Regions from separate parts of the Homo sapiens genome. Here region 1 is linked to region 2. The links are contacts of gene promoters, found by promoter capture Hi-C in blood cells and fetal thymus (Javierre and others, 2016). All regions are on one chromosome and are shown on one strand. Each heading gives the region's core, a stretch centred on a gene start or on the middle of the fragment in contact. The rest is flanking DNA. Distances are from core to core; before and after follow the strand shown. Region 1 overlaps SOAT1 (sterol O-acyltransferase 1). Region 2 holds the start of RASAL2-AS1 (RASAL2 antisense RNA 1).

Evidence for each region. Contacts are between HindIII fragments. The CHiCAGO score rates a contact against its expected background, and 5 or more counts as called.
Region 1: a fragment that was not itself captured here is called in contact with the fragment with the promoter of RASAL2-AS1 in region 2 in 1 of 17 cell types (M0 macrophages); the score reaches 6.4 in M0 macrophages.

Annotation. Positions count from the first base shown.
Region 1 is chr1:179,311,369-179,318,523 of GRCh38, reverse strand. The region is part of intron 2 of SOAT1 (sterol O-acyltransferase 1); the gene reads right to left. Among named protein-coding and RNA genes, the nearest start is that of SOAT1, 21 kb to the right of the region's middle. The HindIII fragment of the contact is 1,919 bases long and covers 2,654-4,572 here.
Region 2 is chr1:178,090,601-178,097,988 of GRCh38, reverse strand. RASAL2-AS1 (RASAL2 antisense RNA 1) reads left to right here and starts at 3,996. Exons shown (of 2, transcript NR_027982.1): 1 at 3,996-4,428; 2 at 4,577-6,481. RASAL2 (RAS protein activator like 2) reads right to left here and starts at 3,885. Exons shown (of 18, transcript NM_170692.4): 1 at 3,295-3,885. The coding sequence starts at 3,496. RefSeq lists silencers at 3,447-3,506, 3,657-3,816, 3,887-4,186, 4,237-4,286 and an enhancer at 3,908-4,409. The HindIII fragment of the contact is 4,675 bases long and covers 820-5,494 here.

The DNA.
Region 1 (7,155 bases), core at 2,364-4,863, 1.2 Mb before region 2:
AATATTCTTTTCTGTATATTAAGTTACAGTAATGTAATTTCCTGGTGTTTAACCTGACTAACGGCGGTATTCTGACTGAGAATCTTTTTCGTAATTTTATAACAAAAATTGGATTTGAAAGGTATGACAGTATTTTTTATGAGAATGTGCTGCTCTGTATAACTCCTGTGTATGTATGGTGCATACTGAGCTTTATTATTGTCACAGATTTAGAGACAGTTTCTTATTTTCACACTGAATCATGGTACCATTATAATTTTAAAAGCAGTGGGATTAATTGATCTCTGCCCTTTTAATAAAATATGGGTAGAGTTTTGGGGGCTTTTTTTGAGACAGGATCTCACTCTGTCATCTAGGTTGGACTGCAGTGGCACAATCACAGCTCACTGCAGCCTCTAACACTTGATCTCAAGTGATCCTCCTGCATCAGCCGCCCCGCTAGCTGGGACCATAGATGTGTGCCACCACACCCAGCTAATTTTTTTTTAAGTGTTTTGTAGAGACAAGGTCTCACTATGTTGCCCTGGCTGGGCTTGACTTAACTCCTGGCCTCAAACAATCCTCCTGCCTCAGCCTCCCAAAATGCTGAGATTATAGGCATGTGTCACCATGCTTAGCCCAGGGTAGAGTTAATTTTGAATGCCATCTGCCATTATTCACAAATGAGTTTGTGAATAATGAGATACTAAATATCTTTATTCTATCCTTTTAATAAAGTGTCAAGTCATCTGTTATATTATGGGAACCGAGAAACATCAGACGTCATTATGTGCACAGACCTACACAGATAAGTGAATGAAACAGAATGGAATGAATACTGAAAACTGTGAAACAGAAAACCACAACGTCTAGTTTGCTATCTTCGTTAAAAAAAAAAAAAAACCTATGATGATGAACTATCACTTTGGCAGATGAATTTTTAAAATTGAGAATTTGTATTTTCTTATTTACTCTACATGGTAATAGCTTAAGTATTTTTTTTTTTTTTTTTGAGACGGAGTCTCGCTCTGTCACCCAGGCTGGAGGGTAGTGGCGCGATCTCGGCTCACTGCAAGCTCCGCCTCCTGGGTTCACACCATTCTCCTGCCTCAGCATCCCAAGTAGCTGGGACTACAGGCGCCCGCCACCACGCCCGGCTAATTTTTTGTATTTTTACTAGAGACAGGGTTTCACTGTGTTAGCCAGGATGGTCTCGATCTCCTGACCTCGTGATCCGCCCGCCTCGGCCTTCCAAAGTGCTAGGATTATAGGCGTGAGCCACCGCGCCAGGCCAGCTTAAGTATTTTTATTTCAGCATTGACAATTGCTATTGTATATTTTGCCTAAAAAGGAAGATTAAAAGCCATTCAAATTTATAAAAGTAATTTCCCAGAAAAAATACACTGAACAGAAATATTTACTTTGCCAAAATGAACTTTGGAGGCATATTTGGGGTAATTTAAGCTTAATAACCCCTTCCCTTAAAAACAAACCATAAAAACATAAAAACAAACTCATACACATACTGCTTTATAACCTGTTTTTTTCACTTAATATATTGTAAACATTTTTCTCTGTCATTACATATTCTTGTATATTATTTTCACTGCCCTATTACTCTGTTTTTATGGTAGAAATATAATTTAATCTTCTATTGGACATTTCTTTTCACAGTATGTCACTTGGAAGAAAGACATGAAGAATGAGAAGGTACAAAATGCATCTAATCAGAGCTCTATACAGAGAGATAATATTTGAGGTGATTATAGCTGAGAATTGGCCAGAACTGTTGAGAGACACAAATTCTAGGATAAAGTCAAAGAATTCCAAGCAGGATAAATAATCTACTTAGTGCCAGGCGTGGTGGCTCACGCCTGTAATCCCAGCACTGTGGGAAGCCAAGGCAGGTGGATCACCTGAGGTCGGCAGTTTGAGACCAGCCTGACCAACATGGAGAAGCCCTGTCTACTAAAAATACAAAATTAGCTGGCGTGGTGGCACATGCCTGTAATCCCAGCTACTCAAGAGGCTAAGGCAGGAGTATCGCTTGAACCCGGGAGGTGGAGGTTGCGGTGAGCCGAGATCATACCATTGCACTCCAGCCTGGGCAACAAGAGTGAAACTCCATCTCAAAAGAAAAAATAATAATAATAATCGACTTAGATATATCACAGTGAAACTGTCTGACGCAGGGGTTAAAAAAAAAAACTAAAAGCACCCAGAAAGAATATCAACTACGCAAGTACTGCAATTACAACGCATACCTGACTTAACATCAATGGAAGCCAGGAGACAGTGGAATGTCTTCAATTATCGATAATGGCAGAATTGATGACTGGGAAGAAGGCTAGGTCATATAATAACAAGGGCTTTGAGGAAACTAAGAATTTTATGCAGGAAAATACTGAGCTGATATTGGAAGATGGAAAGGACCACATAACAGAGAAATGCAATAAATCCGGACAAAAAGTGATGTTGTAAATGGCAAGGAGAATGGAGAGCAGAGGATTAATTTAAGATATTTACAAATTGGTAACTGATTAAGAAATATAAGGGTAAGACAAATGTCCATTTGATTTTTCAATAAGTTAAAGAATATATTTTTAATTTAGTTCTATGACCAGACCATGGTTTCATAAATGAACTATTTCATAAAAAAATGAAGACAAAAGCTTCTTTCCTTCAACTAATTCAGCTACCATGGGAGAGGAGGATTGGTAAGGAGACTGTAAAAGATTAATTCTCACTACTTGTGCATCCCTTCCAAAAAGAATCTGTCTATCCATAAATAACACGACAGCCATCATTACAAACAGGCTTTGAGATGCAGCCACTGGAAAGTTAGAAAAAAGATTTGTTCACAGAGTCTCTGAAGACCCCACTGAAAATGACAAAGTTAAGTAAGTGGAAGAAAAATATATTTTAAAATGCTAATTCATTTTCCTTTACCTTCAAAATACCTCTTCATACAATATTACAAAGAAATTCTTAACTTTCTACAATTTAAAATTTAAAAATTAGATGTCAAAGTCAAAAGAATGCCTAAAAGCTAATATCCACTGCTTTTTTTTTTTTAAGACAGGTTCTCACTCTGTTGCTCAGGCTAGGGGGCAGTGGCTATGGCATGATCATAGCTCACTGTGGCCTGGAACTCCTAGGCTCAAGGGATCCTCCCGCCTCAGCCTCCCAAGTACCTAGGACTACAGGCACATGCCACCACACTCACATGCCACCACACCCACCTAATTAAAAAAAATTTTTTTGTAAAGGCAGAGCCTCGCTATGTTGCCCAGGCTGGTCTTGAACTCCTGGCCTCCAGCAATCCTCATGCCTTGGCCTCTGAAACTGTTGGGATTACAAGGATGAGCCACCATCCCCACCCACATCCAATGATTTGAAGAACTATTTACAAGCACTCAACTCAAGGCTTCTCAATTTCTAAAACACTGACCCTGAAACAATGATAAGCCAGGACTGAGGGTGATGTAATTTCGGAATCATTTGCCTCCCTCTAGTAACACACTAACTGCTAACACTAGGAGTCAGTTATTTGCTATCTGAAACTTAATAGAACCCCGCATAAGTCCATAAGGAAAACTATTCAACATTTTTTCCCTTAAATTTCTGATTTCTAAAAAAATCAGGCTTGCAATACTTATCTTCATGAATAAATGCTATCTCTTTTAAAACCTGCTATACTTAATGGGAATGTTTAAAATTTATTCCTTGACATGTCAAAAATCTTATTTTAACCAGTTTTGATGAAAATTTTTGTAAAATTATGACATGCTTTGCTACCCTAAAAAAAACACCAGACTCCAGGCGTGCTGGCTCACGCCTATTATCATCCCAGCACTTTGTGAGGCTGAGACAGGAGGGTCACTTGAAGCCAGGAGTTTGAGACCAGCCTGAGCAACAAAGTGAGACCCCCCCATTCTCTACAAAAAAATAAAACAAAAATGTACTTTACCCTACATAATCTTCGGAACAAGTAAGAGAGATCCATTGTTGTACCATACTATTATAGTGATATCTTTAGCAAAAACGGAAATGTGGAGTGCAATCAGGCCCCACTCAGCAGTCCTGGGGAGCTGTGCCTTTCTACCTAGGCTGCTTCCACAGGGTTCTCCCTAACAATCGTACACTTCTATTACTATAGTCAATCTACCGCCAAAGCTACACAGAAGAAAAGAGACAAATAACCAGGCTTGTTAAATTGGTAACTAATTTACTCAATTTATATACTCATGCATTAAGTAAAAGCCCACTGAGGACCCAATACATGCAGGGCAAACCCTCCCTTCAGGATCTCAGGAGAAAACTACAAATAGGGAAAAGGACAATACAGAGGAGCGCTGTGGGAGAATGAGGGGTGTAGGAGGCTTTTGCAGGAGTCAATATTTGAACTGAGTCTCAAATAATAAAGAAAAATTATGGTGAACAAATGCTAGAAACATTATTCCAGGCAAAGGAATGAAGCATGAAGACTTGTTGGATTTTTCTGAGGCCTGAAGCTCAGTCAGATGCCTCTTAATGCCATGCTCTCTTTTCTTGACAATATTGTATTTAATAGGCTTTGGCCTAAGGGAAGCTTATCTACTTACTTTCTAGGCCACCAGTTACATTCCTGATCAGTGTCGTCCTATAAACATACAATGTGTGGCCAGGCACGGTGGCTCACACCTGTAATCCCAGTACTTTGGGAGGCCGAGGCAGGCAGATCACCGGAGGTCAGGAGTTCGAGACCAGCCTGACCAACATGGGGAAACCCCGTCTCTACTAAAAATACAAAATTAGCCAGGCGTGGTGGCGCATGCCTATAATCCCAGCTACCTGGGAGGGTGAGGCAAGAGAATCGCTTGGACCTGGGAGGCGGAGGTTGCGGTGAGCAGAGATAGCACCATTGCACTCCAGCCTGGGCAACAAAAGCAAAACTCTGTCTAAAAAAAATATATATATACATATATATACACACATATACATATATATATACACATATATACACACATATACATATATATATACACATATATACACAGACATACACATAAAATGTGAATCACCATGTGTAATTTTAAAATTTTTAGGAGCCACATTAAAAAGTAAAAAGAAATGGGTGCCAGTAAGTCTCTGAAATCTGACATATCATAACTATAGTGTTTCTCAATCCAGACTAGCCACATTTCAAGTGCTCAACCAGACTACATTAAACAGTGTACTTCTAGTGGCAACCATATTGAACAACGTAATTCTAGATCAAGAGTCAGAAAGCTTTTTCCGTAATGGGCAGTATAGTCTGCAACTATGTAACAACTACTCAACTCTACTGTGATAACAGGAGAAAGCACTACAAACACAAAAGAATGAACACGGCCACGTTTGCCAACTTTGTTCTAGATGGCCAAGTTTACTGTAAATCTGGTTGGCAAATAAAACAGACAAGTACACACACATTATTTTTTATAATGTAACACAGCCATGGTGAACACTGCCGGTTGCTTCCCAAATAAGGACATGCATGTCACTGCCTTTGCGAGAAACTGATTTAAAAATGGACCTGAGTATCAGACAGCAAAGAGATGACCCACTCAAGCTTATTGACTGGGAAAAATTTAAAGAGGTCCTTTTTCTAGTGTGTGGTCAGAGTTTAAGAAAAGCAACAAAGGATGGTAATAAGGATGATATGGAATTCTAGGGCTAGTAATAAACATCAGGAAAGCTGTTACCATCCTGAGGCCAGAAAGGGCAAAGCGGGTAAAGGGTTAGTGGAACCCAGAGAGAACTCTTTAGAGAGAAATATTAGAAAGGAGCAATGGTTACCTACCAGGGAGAGAACCTTAGTTATAAATACACCCACCTTACTCTCTGCTCTTAGATCTCCTGAAGTTCTCCCACTGGCCAAGCCTACCAGAAACACACAGGGCACTGGAGACTATTGTTGCAGTTCTTAACGTCAGTCTCCCAGGAAACAAAGTAGCGTAGAAAAGACTGGAGAGGCAAAAGGTAGATAGCCAGCATAACTTGTAATCTAACTCTGGCCAATGAGACACGAGAAGTCTGTAGGGGAATTTCTAGCGAAGGTTTCATCGCTAAAGAGAAAGACAGGGAAAGAGACAGTTTCTCTTCTGATAGAAGTCATCATTTTGGTTTTCCAGTTTTCTTAACCAGCACGGACTTACTAACCCTCTGTCATTATTTCTATCTGTCCCTTATCACCACCACCAATTTCCTGGACCCACCATGCCACACGCCGACTCCAGAAATTACCCGCTATCTGCCTTCTGATTCCAAATTGCCATGCGCTACAGAAAAAGTTAGGAAAATAGGCCCATTCTAAACTGCTGCAGTCAAGCCTTAGGCAGGCCAGCAATGAAAATATGCAATCTTTGTCTCTGCCTCTTGATGAATTTCTGTGACATTCCTCACAAAAGTAGTTGGAAACCTTTTCCACTTTCAAGTCCCAGCCCCACCAAGTAACTTTTAGTTGTTCAGTTTTGGTACCAAATCCTTAAATGTCTTCTATGTTTCTTAATTTTTGCTGTCTTTCAACCTCTTCTCCAACATTTCTGTGTCAGAGGAAAGAGTAGCCCATCTCTTTTTCAAGACTAACCCTTCAAACTATTATTGTCTTAATCATTCCCTATTCAAAAAGTTCAACCCACTGAGTCAATTATATTGTCCACATTTAAATTCAGAGACAATTTGTTCTTTAAAAATCATGTTTCAGAAATTATGATATGGATGTCATCAGTGATACTGAAAATAAAATCTGTAGTTCTACTAACACTTATCAAGTTATTATATATTTAATTTGTTTTTTAAAAATAAGTAATTGAACATCAAACCTATGATTTAACAATTTATTACTTAGGTTGAGAATAAATTTTCAAGTGAATTTTTTAAAGTTACATAGTAATAGTAATATAATGGCAAAATAACTGAAATTTAGAAACGATTTTTTTTTTAAAAACAGTCCTTTTGAAGATCACTTAACCCTCATGACATGCTGTACTTTTCCTTCTAATATAAAATGTTCTGAGAAAGAATTTTACACTTCTTATCTTTGTTTTCTTGCTAGCCAATAGTTTCCACCCATTTCTGCAACTCTTCTTTTCCCTGAAGACATTATGGCCTCCAAATTTCTAAATCCGCATCCTTGTTAAACTTGTTACAAAT
Region 2 (7,388 bases), core at 2,747-5,246:
CATTAGTTTGTGTTCTAAATATAGAGCCACCTATTATAAAGCTCTGAACATATTCCAGAAAAGTTTTCCAAATCATGGCAATACACAAAACCCTGAGTATACGTATTATGACAATATATACATATGTACACAATATATATGTATTATCAACCAAGGAGCCAAACCTGTCAACAAGAAACTCAAAACAGTGCCTAGTCTTCAAATTTTGTGAGGCAAACTAATAAAATATTGTTTCTAGAAGTTCCTGTTAAGATATTCTTTGGGGGGTTACTTCTGTTGTTGTTTGTTCCCATCATGATTTCAAACAGAAGTATATTGCAGGAGATGCAAATTGCACTTAATAAAGTTCCTTATTATTATCCTACCTTTAGAACCCACATGGCTATGTAGGTTAGGTCTCAAAACTGGATGAACTAGACCTAAGCAACATCGCCATACTCATCTTCCTATCTTGTGAAAACATTCCAAATAAATAAACATCTGCCTTCAATATATCTTCTTTGAAAACTCAGTTCACTGACCTTTTGATAAAACTGCTCCCCAGAATTCCCTGACAATCATGATTTAAATGCATTAAGTTAAGGGCTTGGTTAATGCCTGGCCCCAAGAGCCAGGATAAAGATTATAGGCCAACCTGCAGGTAAAATAATGGGCCAAGCCACAGAATCAGACAACTTTAAAGCTAAAAGGGACCACAGATACCAATTACTCCAGATTCCACTTTTATGCTGAAACCTAGAGGCCATGAGTTAAAACTACCTGCCCAGAATTAGACAACCAACTTGTGGCAAAGCCAGAATGAAACCAATACTCTAAGCTTCTAGTTGTATCCTCTAGACTAGGTTCCCAATTTGTAGATTTCCCTGAAACATGTTAGACTACACTCATCAAAGTCTCTTTAAATTGTGAGAAGAACCTAGGTGATCCAAGACAACGAAGGTTTTGAACACACAGACAAGAAACAAGAAAAACAAAAATTCTGTATTCTCCAAATTGTTTTTCTACATTCTATTACTTTTATTTCAAAGTTTTTACTTCAAAGTTTTCAAACATACACCCTGTTCATACAATAGGCAACTTAAAACTAGCTAAGGACATAGCCAAGAGTCATTCCAATAGTTCTGAAATATTTACATAAACTAAAGACAACAAAATAGTATCCAGGATGAGCTGCCTCAGAGGAAGGAAAGTAGCAATACTAAACAATAAATAAAAACAACTTCTGGTTAATTGATAGAGAAAACAAAAAAAGTTACAATGCAGTGGTAAGTCTGCAATTGGTCACAAAAATGCAAGGCATGGTATGTATATGTGTGTGTCACACACATATACATACCATGCATTTCTGTGATGTCTGATATGAAGTCTTGACATCAATTGAACCACGCAGAAAGAAAACTTCTAAGTCGTGGTCACTCTTGAACAATAAACATATATCCTGTTCAGAAGGACGAAAGAAAAAAAACATAATGTAAACTTGCTCTCACTCTCTCTCTCTCTTACACACACACACACACACACACAAAATATACAATATATATTTCACAAATCAACCCCTAGGAATGGACTACAAAACAACATACATTTGTAGACTTTTATGTCCTTACAAATGAAGAACGATAGTTAACACTAGGTCCAGAGAACCCAGATTGTTTTGGATACTGAAATACCGAATTATCATATACATGTATTCTTAGAATAGCATGGCCCTATTTCTAACATCACACAAATAAACAGTATGCCAAAGAAGTGTGTAAGGAGAGAAAGATGATAGAATGGGAAAACGTTGTAACTACAATATACTCTAATTCATATGCACTTTCAGATTCTCACCAACCTTTGTTCTAAATGACCAGCTAAGTGGGATTTAGCAGGCAGACGGAAAATCAGGCACCAAAGTTTTTAATCTAATTTGCTGAGAACAAACTGGGTGACCTTGCATCGTCTCCCACTCCTTTGCTTTAAATCTTCCGGTACGTAGAGTAACATCAAGAAACAGCCAGCAAAATACAAAGTGGTACACAAATCCTTAAGAACTGGTTATAAGAAGAATTCCTGGATTTTTATGATTAAAAGGGTCACTAGTGATGATTTAATCCAATCCACTCACTTTACAGATGAGGAATCACAAGCCAAAAATGTGACTCGATCTGCCCCAAATCCCATAGCCATTTAGTGGTAGAACTGAGACAAGAACTGAGATCTCTGGACTCCTAGTTCTATGATCTTTGCGATGGACATTAAGTCTTCAAATCAACTGAACTACACAGAAAAAAACCTAAGTCTTGGTCACTCTTGAATAGTAAGCATATACCCTGTTCAGAAAGATGAAAGAAAAAAACATAAGGTACTTGATCACTACAGGCTTAGATGCACAAGACTGCAGGATAACATCTTAACATTGTGTTTGATCCCAGGTGCTTCAAATTTGCCATCTTATACTCAGCCACGTTACTAATGTCTTCTGCAGTCACGTGAGCTAGGCGATAAACATCTTGCCGTTTCAATATTTTGGAAAGCCACAGCTCAGTCCTGAATGCCAGGCTATAAATCCTTAAGCTATGAGTTTTCAAAACCAGCATGGTTTTAGTGCTGCCACAAGGCTCACCCTAATAGAATCTCATCATTCAGTTTTAATTAAAGAGGTGGTTACCAGGAATGCAGAAAGGGAAAGTTTTAGTGTGTTCATCACTTTTAACCTGCTGAGTGGCAACCCAGTCACTTTACAACGAGATTCAGAAACAATAGTGTAATCTGAAACAATCCACACCCGTTGGAATAAGTGGTTGCTTTTAGAGAGAGTGAGGTTCAGGCAGAGGTTATAGATTAGTCTTGCTCCCACCAAATACATAGTTTGCATTTTTTTCATTCATTAGCTTATCCTCTGCTTTTTCATAATATCTTGGTTTCCAGTCTTGCCTCATTCAACAATAAAAAGAGACGAAAATCCATTCACTTGGTTTCATGGAGTTTTTCCATCATACCTTCTTGAAGATTGATTGCCTGGCTGTTCCCTTGAAGTAATCGCCTAAGAATTACGTCTTGGATAGCCCAACTCCCGCATTAAACTTACTGCAGGTGTCTGAAGAGGTCCAAAGACCATACTGAGTGACATCCCTGCCCAAGTGATAGTCTGAAGAAACTTGTCAGAAATGCACCCCCAGAACAAAAAGGGATGTGGGAAACTGACCTAGCACGGATGAGGACTGGGAATGAGCCTGTGACTTAGGGAATGAATTTCAGCCCAAGCAAAAATAGGAAACACCAGCCTCTAAGACGGCCTGTGGTCCTTACCGTACACCCGGACCCAGCTCTGTTGCTGGCACACGGACTCCAGAAGGATCCGATCCAACATGCCACCGGCGACGGCTCCACTGACTGGGACAACCGCGTCCAGGTCCTCCGGGGGCAGCGGCGAGTCGGACTCCAGCGCCGGGAACATCTCCGGCCAGGACAGCGCCTCCGCGGCTCCTCCGGACGACGGAGAGAGCTCCATGGTGCCCCGAGGCGGGAGGGGGACGAGGCGGCGGCTTCGGGGCGGGCTGGCGCGCGGCTCCGCGCCCTGCCTGCGGTAAGGGGAGGAGGAGAGCGCGCAGCGAGGGCAGGGACCCGAGCGGCAGCCGGCGCGGACACCTCTCACCTCCTTCCCCGTCGCCCACTGCCCGAGGCTCGGGCGATGCAGCCCACCTGCAGTCGGCGGGCGGGACCCAGGCCGGGAGGAGGATCCAGCGTGGCCCCGACCAAGGGTGGGTCCGGGCTCAGGTGTGTGTGGGTCCCTCCCGGGAGAGGACGCAGAAGAACCCGGGAGGGGAGGCTCGCCCTCCCACCTCCTCGGAGCCGCCTTCTTCAGCCCCGCCGGCGTCTCTCGCGGTCAGACCAGGCTCTGGCTGGGGATGGAGCGGGGCCGGGCAGGGCTGGGCTTGGGGGCGTCGCCGCCAGGGGCCGCCCCCTCTGACCGGCTCCCGCCGCCGCCGCCTCAGAAGCTCCGAGTGCCCGTTCCCTCAGCCTGAGGAGGGGTAGGGGGCGGTGGCCCCGGGTTCTAGCCCGCCTGTCCTCGGCCCCCACTTCTGGAATGAGCCTGCCCGCCCCCTGACTCTCAGGCCACAGCTCCGGCCACAGCTCTGGCTCCTGCTCCGCGGCGGATCCCACAAACCCGGCAGCCACGGCGGTGGCGGTGGCGGTGGCGGTGGCGGTGGCGGCGGCGGCGGCGGCGGCAGCGGCAGGCGGCATCCCAGGGTGATAGGCTGAAGCAATCGAGGGCCGAGAGCCCGGCCGCGTGTGCACTCGAGTAACGAAGCCGGGGAGGGACTGCGCCGCAGGCAGGAAAAGTCGGACACCGAATTATTCATCCGGCCTGTCCCGCCTACTTTCCAAGTACCCTCCCAGGGATAGCCGGGTATTGAGCGGTCCGGGTCTCTGCTGCTCAAAGTAAAGACCGTTTGAGAAGGCGGGGAGGTAAAAGGGTGCGGGAAATTTAAACAGAAAAGAAAGGAGCTTCCCTTCCTTCTCACACCTTTCCTATTTATTTGTTTCTTTCTTTCTTTATGGGCCAACGTTTCTTTCTTATTGGACAAAGAGATCGAAGAAGCTGCTTTATCTTACAGTCACCCAAGGGGGAGCGCCTTCTTCCTTCCCAGAGTGGAGTGGCAGTGGGTCCGGGATTCTGGGATATGCACAGGGTCTGCGCCCTGCGCCCTGTCCGCGCTGAAGCTGAACTTGTCATTGGTTTGCAACAGCATGGTGAAGAAGTGTGGTGTGGATGGACGGACGGGCCTCTCAGGCACATGAAATACTCAAAGCCCAGTATTAACCAAACATGTTTCTCTGTTTTGTCTTTGATCTTTGTGCAGTGTGTTGGCTTTTTTCCTTTAATGATGTCACTTGTATTTTATTTTTGGTTTATTTGTAGACTGTCTCCCTCCTTGGCCATGGCTTTACTTTTATGTCCACCCAAGGAGAGTTTCACCAGTTTAGGTTTAAGAAATTACTGACAAGTTAACAATAATAATTTCAAAATTGAACAGTAATAACTTAAACCGTGCCTTGGACATAGTAGATCTCCAACAGTTTTTCTTGAATGTGGCTACCTAATGTGGAACAAGATTTTTCATAATTACATGTTGCTATTTTTAATACCTTTTGGGAGGTTCTTTAGTCCCCCCCGCCCTTTCTCCCTACGTTGCACAAAGAGACTGGTCTACAAGGGGTCCTGTTAGTTTTCTGGTTTTGTGGGGTCCTGGAATATTGTTTGGGCTTATTGAGAGTTAACAAGGATGTATTTTGTGAGTTTCTCCAAAGTCTTATTTAGAGTAATAGTATTTCAAAGCAAGAAGTGTTTTAGAGAGAACATCATTCTGCCTCTTGTTTAACAGGTGAGGAAACTGAGGAAAAACCAGCTTACCTGGCTAATCAACCACAAGTACAGATAGTTCCACAATGACTCAATGGATATTACTTCAACTTTGTTCCCTCAAGAAACTTTTGTGATTAAGCTTGTTGATTTGTGGCTTGATGGTTTACAGGAATGGTCATTTTTAATATCTAGGACCCTGCTTGCTTGCTTGCTTGCTTGCTTACTAGACTGGCTGCATAGTCAGTCTTCCACGTGTAAACAACAGTGTGTGCTTTAGTGGATAAGAGATGTTGAGTGCTGAGATTTCAAGGCTCAGCACTGAGTAGACCTAGAGCATTTTTATTTATACTAAATTAATGCCATGGTAACATAAGTTAGACAGCAAGTGAATATGGCATCAAATGTACAAAGTTGAGTATCTCTTTACTAGTCAATGTATAAGGAATTTATTTACCCAAGCAATTATCTTAAAAACAGCATTACAAGTGGTATGCGAAACATTTCCAGAATTTATTTCCACATCTGCTCTTTCAGTGGCATCATCCATTCCTGAGCTCAAGAAAAGGCCTCTGCCAACCGCCAGTAATCCTGCTTTTTTAGTAATCCTACTATTTTTTTTTTAACTTTAAGTTCTGGGATACATGTGCAGAACATGCAGGTTTGTTACATAGGTATACATGTGCCTATGTATACCTATGTAACATGGTGGTTACAGTAAACATGGTGGTTTACTGCATCTATCAACCCGTCATCTAGGTTTTAAGCCCTGCATTCATTAGATATTTGTCCTAATGCTCTCCCTCCCCTTTCCCCCACGCCCCGACAGGCCCCAGTATGTGATATTACCCTCCCTGTGTCCATGTGTTCTCATCGTTCAACTCCCACTTATAAGTGAGAATATGCAGAGTTTGGTTTTCTGTTGTGTTACTTTGCTTAGAATGATGGCTCCCAGCTTCATCCATGTCCCTGCAAATGACATGAACTCATTCTTTTTTATGGCTGCATAGTATTCCATGGTGTATATGTGCCACATTGTCTTTATCCAGTCTATCATCGATGGCATTTGGGTTGGTTCCAAGTCTTTGCTATTGTAAATAGCACTGCAATAAACATACATGTGCATGTGTCTTTATAGTAGAATGATTTATAATCCTTTGGGTATATACCCAGTAATGGGATTGCTGGGTCAAATGGTATTTTGGTTCTAGATCCTTGAGGAATCGCCACAGTGTCTTCCACAATGGTTGAACTAATTTACACTCCCACCAACAGTGTAAAAGCATTCCTATTTCTCCATAGCCTTGGCAGAATCTGTTGTTTCCTGACTTTTTAATAATCACCATTCTCACTGGCGTGAGGTGGTATCTCACTGTGGTTTTGATTTGCATTTCTCTAATGACCAATGATGATGAACTTTTTTTCATATGTTTATTGGCTGCATAAATGTCTTCTTTTGAGAAGTGTCTGTTCATATCCTTTGCCCACTTTTTGATGGGGTTGTTTGTTTTTTTCTTGTAAATTTGTCTAAGTTCCTTGTAGATTCTGGACATTAGACCTTTGTCGGATGGGTAGATTGCAAAACTTTCTCCCATTCTGTAGGTTGCCTGTTCACTCTGATGATAGTTTCTTTTGCTGTGCAGAAGCTCTTTAGTTGGATTAGATCCCATTTGTCAATTTTGGCTTTTGTTGCAATTGCTTTTGGTGTTTTAGTCATGAAGTCTTTGCCCATGCCTATGTCCTGAATGGTATTGCCTAGATTTTCTTCTAGGGTTTTTATGGTTTGGGGTTTTACATTTAAGTCTTTAATCCATTTTCAATAATCCTACTTTTTAAATCCAAACGTTCCAGATACTGGTCCCTGCTTCACCTCCCTATCCTGACCCCAGACTAGCAGCAGGTCATTATCTAATTGCCTAAGTAATAGTATGTCTGAAATTTATCTAGTGTTCATAACTTAAAAATAAAATACTTTCACAGGCCAGGCATGGTGGCTTACACCTATAATCATAGTGCTTTTAGAGGCTGAGGCAGGAGG